2 separate regions of the Homo sapiens genome follow, and region 2 is linked to region 1. The links are contacts of gene promoters, found by promoter capture Hi-C in blood cells and fetal thymus (Javierre and others, 2016). All regions are on one chromosome and are shown on one strand. Each heading gives the region's core, a stretch centred on a gene start or on the middle of the fragment in contact. The rest is flanking DNA. Distances are from core to core; before and after follow the strand shown. Region 1 holds the start of BPGM (bisphosphoglycerate mutase). Region 2 overlaps TPK1 (thiamin pyrophosphokinase 1).

What was found. The method cuts DNA at HindIII sites, captures the fragments that hold promoters and counts their contacts. A CHiCAGO score of 5 or more calls a contact.
Region 2: a fragment that was not itself captured here is called in contact with the fragment with the promoter of BPGM in region 1 in 1 of 17 cell types (fetal thymus); the score reaches 8.2 in fetal thymus.

The regions. Positions count from the first base shown.
Region 1 is chr7:134,644,678-134,648,651 of GRCh38, reverse strand. It overlaps BPGM (bisphosphoglycerate mutase), which reads right to left and starts at 1,799. Exons shown (of 3, transcript NM_001724.5): 1 at 1,715-1,799. The region is part of intron 1 of LOC124901750 (a long non-coding RNA gene); the gene reads left to right. RefSeq lists enhancers at 1,463-1,572, 1,673-1,822. The HindIII fragment of the contact is 1,395 bases long and covers 1,079-2,473 here.
Region 2 is chr7:144,832,008-144,835,981 of GRCh38, reverse strand. TPK1 (thiamin pyrophosphokinase 1) reads left to right here. Exons shown (of 9, transcript NM_022445.4): 1 at 1-15; 2 at 364-422. The coding sequence starts at 380. Among named protein-coding and RNA genes, the nearest start is that of TPK1, 2.1 kb to the left of the region's middle. RefSeq lists a silencer at 89-188. The HindIII fragment of the contact is 1,006 bases long and covers 1,034-2,039 here.

The DNA.
Region 1 (3,974 bases), core at 550-3,049:
TAAGATCACACAAATAGTAACAGTTTCAGGACTAAAGCCAATGTTCTTGATTTCTAACTCAGAGCTCCTTCCACTATGACACTGTTTGAATTATGCTTCTCTGAAGTCCACCACCAACTGGGGAGCATCTGCGGTGTATGAGGTGCTACTGGAATACAAAGATGGCTAAGAAAGAGCTATTCCCTGGACTCACGGGAGGCAGTTCAAAAAAAAAGAAGGCCGGGCGCGGTAGCTCACACCTGTAATCCCAGCACTTTGGGAGGCCGAGGCAGGCAGATCACCTGAGGTCAGGAATTCGAGACCAGCCTGGCCAACATGGTGAAATCCTGTCTCTACTAAAAACACAAAATTAGCTGGGCGTGGGGGCGCATGCCTGTAATCCCAGCTACTCGGGAGGCTGAGGCAGGAGAATCGATTGAATCCAGGAGGCGGAGGTTGCGGTGAGCCAATATCGCGCCATTGCACTCCAGCCTGGGCAACAGAAGCGAAACTCCGTCTGAAAACAAAACAAAAAAAAAACCAAAACAAAAGAAAGAAAGAAAGAAAAAAGACAAGGCCAGGCACGGTGGCTCACGCCTGTAATCCCAGCACTTTGGGAGGCCGAGGCAGGCAGATCACCTGAGGTCAGGAGTTCAAGACCACCCTGGCCAACATGGTGAAACCCCGTCTCTACTAAAAATACAAAAATCAGCCAGGCGTGGTGGCCTATGCTTGTAATCCCAGCTACTTGGGAGGCTGAGGCAGGAGAATCACTTGAACCCGGTAGGCGGAGGTTGCAGTGAACCGAGATCGAGCCACTGCAGTCGCTCCAGCCTGGGCGACAGAGCGAGACTCCGTTTCAAAAAAAATAAAAAATAAAAGACAAATTGACATGAGTTCTGCTTTCACTATTAAAAAACCTTTAGTACCTACAGGTGAAACTTAGCTTTTGATTTTTCCCCTTCTTGGAAAGAGTCTGCATTTAGTCAGCTAACATTCTAGTACCACTCACAAGCTAAAGATCTTCCGTAATTTGCAAGGGAGGCAGTAGGGGGATGAGAGTTATAAGTTAGCTAACAACCAACTATTCTTTAAAGCTTAACTGTGAACTTAACTGCAATTATGCATTTCATTGACCTTCTCTAGTGTAATACCAGCTCGTCCCTTAGAAAAGAGGAAAATACACTTACGTTTTTATTTCTAGTGGTTCTAAGAACTTGTGATTTGGCTCCAGATTCCTACATGAAAACACTGCATATATTCACCTCCTTCTCTTTTCACCGCATTCGAGTTTTTCTGTCTACTACACAAAATGATAGATAGGGCCAGGTCTGCCAGAACCCTAAATACAGCGGCATCGCCCTGCTTCCTTCCAGGGGATCTTACTATTGGAAGGGCTCTGCTACACAGTACCTCAGACATCCAGAAGAGAGTTTATCTTCCCTCCAACTTCTATATATTCTTGCCATAAGGACAGCACTACCAAAGCGGGCTCCTCCTCTCAGTTGACAGAACGGTGACTGCCTGCGAGGCTCATTCTGAGATAGGGACAAGGGAAAGGGACCGGGGCGATAAGTGAGGGTCCCAGCTTGAGGGCTGGAGTGGGCACCAGACTCCCACCAACGACTAAACCGGGGGAAGTAAAGAAACTGGCCTTCCCCGCACCCAAAAATAAAACATCACATCACTAAAAAATGTAAACGTTCGCAACATTTTCTAAAACAAAGCCACTCACCTGCAAAGGGGCCACCAGCAGCAGCAGCAGCAGCAGCAGCCGCTCCTCCGAGCCGCCAAAGAGCCAGCGCCTCCTAGGACTCATCACTGCCGCCGGCATCGACGCTCTTTTCTAGCCCCTGAACCAGACGTGGGCAGGTCCTAGGGCTCTGCCTATTGGAAAGTCGAACTGTCACTCATCCACGGTCCCGGCCTACTCCCGGAACAGGAGAGGTCTCTTCCGTTTACCAAATCCCAGGAGTAAGAAGTGGGGCTCTGATTGGTTTACTCTAGAGACGAGCACATACCTGAACCAGTAAGGAGTTGGCTTCGACGCCAGCGGGCAGGCTTGGGCCTAGGGAAGTAGAAAAACACACCCTAGAGCGTCGCTGGTGCAAAACCTCGGGTGCGGGGAGCATCTTAGCTGTTTGAGGTTCTAGAAAGCGTTTAACGTCTTAAAAGAAACACCTGCGGGTGAAGACAGGTGTCAGCGGACTCTTGGAAGAGAGGAGGTGATGTTTCTTTTACTTATGGGAAATTTAGGGATTGAAACCTGAAGACGAAGCCGAGGTATCCTCCCAGAAGAAGCTCCTTTCGCACAAATTACTCGTGGTTGAAAGTCTTAAGTCGTGATTAAAACAAATGCCTTTAAAGTGCCCAATTTATAGGCAGTAACGCAACCTTACTTTCTCTTACCGCTTTTATAGGGATTCCCCTAGGCAGTTTGCTGACAGTATTTTAGGTGGGGAAGAAAAGTGATTAATGGAATGCCCTAAAAGCTTATTGCACAGAGGAAGGGAGGCTAGAGTGGAATGAGAGAATGACAAATTTGGAGGCGACAATAACTGAACAAGAGAAATCTATGAAAACACCGGAAACCTGGCACGAGGCCTTAAAAGCTTCTAAGCAGGCTTGAACTACCACACGAGGTTTTGAAGCATATGTGTCAGAACTCTTGGGTGGGCGGGAAAGATAAGGAATGTTATGGGAGATTCCCTTCTTAGAAGCTATCCTAAGTAGTGTTTCGTGTCCTCCTGTGAGTTTTTCCTGTTTCATCCTCCTAACAAATGCATTAGGTTTGTGACACGCAAGCAAGTCCTCAGAATAAATTATACATACAGTTGAAAAGATAATCTTTCCACATTTGAAATTCTGTGACACACTCTTTATTGAACTCATTAAGACCTAATCGTAGCCAGTTCTGTATCTCATTTATCCATGTTAGAGCATGACAGTTCCTCCTGGGATATCAACAGAACTTTACTTCCGGGACGGCACTAATCCGAGGCTTGACAGGTCCCAGCAGGTGATAGGTCTCACCTAGTGATAGTTAGAATTTAACTTGCACAAGATTAACTAGAGTTCAGGCCAGAACAGCTGGAAGGGGCAGCTTCCAAATCTTATACATTTGCCCTCTTGCTTTTTTCTCAATATCAGTTGAGGACAAAGTAAGGAGAAAGCTTTTCTTCTACAGTGTAATAAAGCTCCTATTCAGAGTGCCCACCATCCATACTCCGGAGGCTAATGACAGTCATTACCAAGTGACAGTCTTGTGGCATTTGGCATTTAGGGCTACTTAGTCTGGACTTAAGGGCGCCTACTCATTGGATTTAAGTTTACTGTTGTTATGGACACCCATGGAATGCTAGCTTGTCACATAAAACCTTAATATCAAACATCACTTGCCTTTTAGAATCATTCGCAAGAGTATGTGGCTTATGAATGAGTCATTTTGATATAAGATGGAAGCTTATATCAGTGATTCTGTCTAGAAGGAATTAAAAAGCAGATTTTCATCAGGAGCAAGCATGTTTGTAAGACAAATGTGCACAGAGGCTAACAGAATTTCAGGAGTTACTTTTGCCCTATGGCAAGATTGTTCTCCATACTTAATTATGTTACAGTATCATATCCTGAACCCTGTGTCCTGGTCTATTCGATGAGCTGTCTCTCTTATGAATTTTTAAATAACGAGGTCGTGGTTCACAAAGATGATCATAAATCCATTTAAGGCAAAGATGAACTCCAAAGAATATTAGACTTGTACAAACTTAGTACTTGACAGGGCTTTGGAAATTAAACTCTAGCTCCTTGTTGTACAGATAAAGAAACTGAAGCTTAAGTGATGTGCTCAGAATTACTTGGTTGGGGACAAATCCTGGGCTAGGACCCAAGGTTGCTAATTCATATAATTCTGGGAAGATGCTTCCTCTTCCTGCTGCCTTCTCCTCCTCACCCCAAAAGCAATGTATTTTTTAAATTAAGATTAATTTTAGGATTCA
Region 2 (3,974 bases), core at 287-2,786, about 10 Mb before region 1:
CCTACCAGCCATTGTGTAAGTGCGACTGCTGCCGGGCGCGCGGGCCGCGGAAGGGGGCGGCCGCCTCTCGCTCCCCAGGTTCCCGGATGGTGATGGGTTCGCGGAGAGAGGCGGCAGGGGCAACCCCTCGGACCTCATAGCGGCCCGCGCGGCCGGTCTCCGGGGGCCCCCGCCCGCGGCGGTGCTGTAGGCGAGCCGTGGCGGGTCCCCAGCGCCGGGTGCTGCGCCGCAGCTCAGCTGGCTCCTGGGTCCCGGAGCGCGCCGCTGCCGAGTGCCAGGTTCAGGCGGCTCCCGTGCTGTTGGTTCTGCGCGATGTTTAATTAAAACTGAGAGTCTAACTTCACTTTTTTTTTTTTAATGCAGAGGCCAATAATCCGTTATGGAGCATGCCTTTACCCCGTTGGAGCCCCTGCTTTCCACTGGTACTGTATTTCTTTCCACGGTTTAGTGTCACTGACGTGCCCCTCCCCAGCGACGGGAACAGGTCGAAAGGACGGGGCTCTAGAGCCAGCGTGACTTCCAGCCTGGGTTCTGTCCCTGATTTCCTAGCTCTGTACCGCTAAGCATATCAGCCTCTCGCCGGTCTCATTTTCCTCATCTGAAAAATGAGCTTACGTATCAGTCCTTGCTGTGAGGACGAAATGACAAGATACAGTGTGTGTAGTCCGTGTGGAGCCCAGTAAGCGCTTCCCGGCTGTTGCGCCTCCACCAACAGCGCGAACAAATCTGGAACATAGCGGAACATTAGACATTGCAGGCATTAAGGACGGTCATCGTTGCCTGACCGTGATGCATTTTTAATCCATTGAAAGTGCCCCGAGCTTATCTAATAAAAGATTGGCAAATGATTATATCAAGTGTTTTAAATCTATATAACACTCAGGATATTTTATTCTTCTAAGATTTGAAATTACTGTGTAACCGAGTTCAGGCTGGGCTGCTCGCTGCTTGCAGAGCCAATCAACAAGGACGAAGGGCCCGGAAAGGAAAGTGACTACTTTCCAAAGCTAGCAATGGGGAAGTAGTCCAAGCTTCTGCCTTAACGAAACCATTTCAAATTTGGACAAAATGTAAGAGCTTATAAAGGGGCGCTTGGTATTGGGGCTCGGGGGCCCCAGTCTACGTGACTTGCTCAGATATTTATCTTGGGTTTTTGCCTCATCTGGTGAATGGGCTGGCGCCTGAGTATAACTGGGTTGCAAATTAACTGCAGCCTTGAAGTAATCTCCAGGTGGAGGAGAATTCAGTAGTCGCCTGAATTGTTTCAAGATTAGTCTCTGGAACTTCAGACGAACACATAATTAGATAAGGGAAACGTTGTGTAAGGGTGTTCGTGGGGGAAAGGAGAGCAAAGACTATTATCTCATTGTTAAAGGTAAGACAAGGCATCGCACAGGAAAGAGAAAAACTTTTGAAAATAAGACATTCAGGTACTTCACATGGAAATAGATGGAATGAATGAGTTTATGAGGCAGGTTGTTAGCATTCATTCTTGTGTAATAATTGACTACTGTGTGATAATTTGGTAATGTTAAAGTATTTTCAATTAACTATTAGTTTTTTCTCATAACTTTCGTAAATTTAAACAGAAAGTATAATTGTTTAAACGTTTACATTTGTTTTCTGTCAACATGAATTCATGGGTCGTGTTTTGGGCATTGAATTTAACTTGTACGTTTTTCCACATGCTGGGAATAGTAGGTGACATTGACTCCTTACTCCCAAGTCATGTTTTTGTTTGTGACAGGGTCTTGCTTTGTCGCCCTGGCTGGAGTGCAGTGGTGCCATCATGGCTCACTGCAGCCTCGACCTCCCATGCTCAAGCGATCCTCCCACCTTAACTTCTGGAGTAGCTAGGACTACAGGTGTGCACTACCCCACCTGGCTAATTTTTAAATTTTTTGTGGAGAAGGGGTCTCCCTGTGTTGCCCAGGCTGGTCTTAAACTCCTGGGCTCAAGTGATCCCATTCTCCTGCCTCAGTCTCCCAAAGTGCTGGGATTGTGGGTATGAACTACCACGCCTAGTTATGCTAAAAGCTTTATATACATATACATGTTTATGTCTTATTCTACAGGTGAAGGAAAACAGTTACATAACTAGAGTCTTAATCCCTTTATTATTTTAGTAGATTAAAAGGTTGAGTGTTTATTACTTTAAACAGCTTTTCAAAGTTAAAAAAAAAAAAAAAAAAGGCCAGGCGCGGTGGCTCAGGCCTGTAATCCCAGCACTTTGGGAGGCTGAGGCAGGAGGATCACCTGAGGTCAGGAATTCTGAGACCAGCCTGGCCAACATGGTGAAACCCTGTCTGTACTAAAAATAGTCTCTGCTAAAATTAGTTGGTTGTGGCGGCACACGCCTGTAATCCCAGCTACTTGGGAGGCTGAGGTAGGAGAATTGTAGGAGAATTGCTTGAACCTGGGAGGTGGAGGTTGTAGTGAGCTGAGATTGCACCATTGCACTCCAGCCTGGGAGACAGAGAGAGACTCCATCCTCCATCTCAAAACAAAAACAAAAACAAAAACAAAAACAATCCAAAGAAAAAAAACCCCAAAAGGCACTGGGAAGCACATTTTGCAAATTTCCTAGTTCTCGTTTATCCAGTATTACCAGGACAAACAGCATTTTCTAGAGTAAACATTTGATTTGGGTGAAATGTTGACTTTCAGATTTGTTACTGAAACCTAAGAGCATTACTGTCTGAAGATTTCTAATGGTTTCTAGGTTAAAAGACATATATCAGGGATACTGACTGCTGCATAATAAAGATTGTATTGAGGAACTATAATATCTGGGTTTAAATCCTAGCTTTGCCACTTAATAGTTATTTCACCTTGTACTTCCATTTCTTCATCTGTAAAATAGGAATACATCATAGGGTTATTATGTGTATAAATGAATTAGTACAAATCAAGCACTTAGCTTCAGTAGCTATAAGCTGTTCAGCAGTAAGTTTGAGGGGAAAGCAAAAAGGCAGTTGAATCTCAGGGTGGATGCTGAGATGGAAAAGGAGGGAGCTGATAGCTCTGCCCCTTTGTTTTTAATAGAGGCTTAGTGGAGAAGGCCTTGACTGCTTAAGTCAGGACATTTGTAAGTTCCACATTGGAGCAAGGCCTGTAGGGAAATGGTGATATATGAAGTACAGATCCAGGGAACAGAATCCAGTGCCTGGCCTCTTGGGTGGTTCTCACAGTTACCTCCTGTTGTTCCTATGGGTAAAACTGTGTAGGATTCTTGTCTTATCTCTAGTTTTGACCTTGAAACAAGGATTTGGGCAAGTTTGTGATTACTCTGGATATGTATAAGGTGTTTAACAACAGAACTATTACTATAAGGGCCAGTGTGATGCCGGATCTTTTACAGTAATTCAGTAAATTTTTGAGGTTAATTTTTTTATTGGAGAGATTCCCTTTATCAAACAGGTTCAGTGTTTAATACTCACCTGGCAGAGAAGTTTTTTCTGATACCAGCTTCTGTGAATTTTATTTGTTGGTATGATTTATCTGTAATGCTTATTAAGATTTAGTATAGTGGACAATCCAACAATAAAGGTAGTTCTCTACAGATTAAGAAGTTGCTAAGAAAAGTTTTGTGGACCAAAATACTTAACCCTCTGGGATGATCACTAGCCCAGGGAAAGATGGAATTCTTTTTAAAATTCTTTTTTTTTTTTTTGTAACTAAGTGCTCATTATTTAAGAAAAAACAACTATCTGCCCTAGAATGTGAAAGTTTCCTGTACTCCCTTTTCCAGAAATAACTATTATTTCTCATACTTTAAACAAAATGTGTTCATATTATAAATTGTTTTGTAAATTACTGTTTGTGGGCAGTGAGTTAAAATACATAAATATTTGTTACTACAAACATCACATGTGCTCTTTGTTCATTTTTTTTCCAAACTAAAAAATGTGTCCTAGTTACCGGACATTATCAGTCTAAAAATTTATGTGTTCTTTTAAATTTTGTGTGTATGA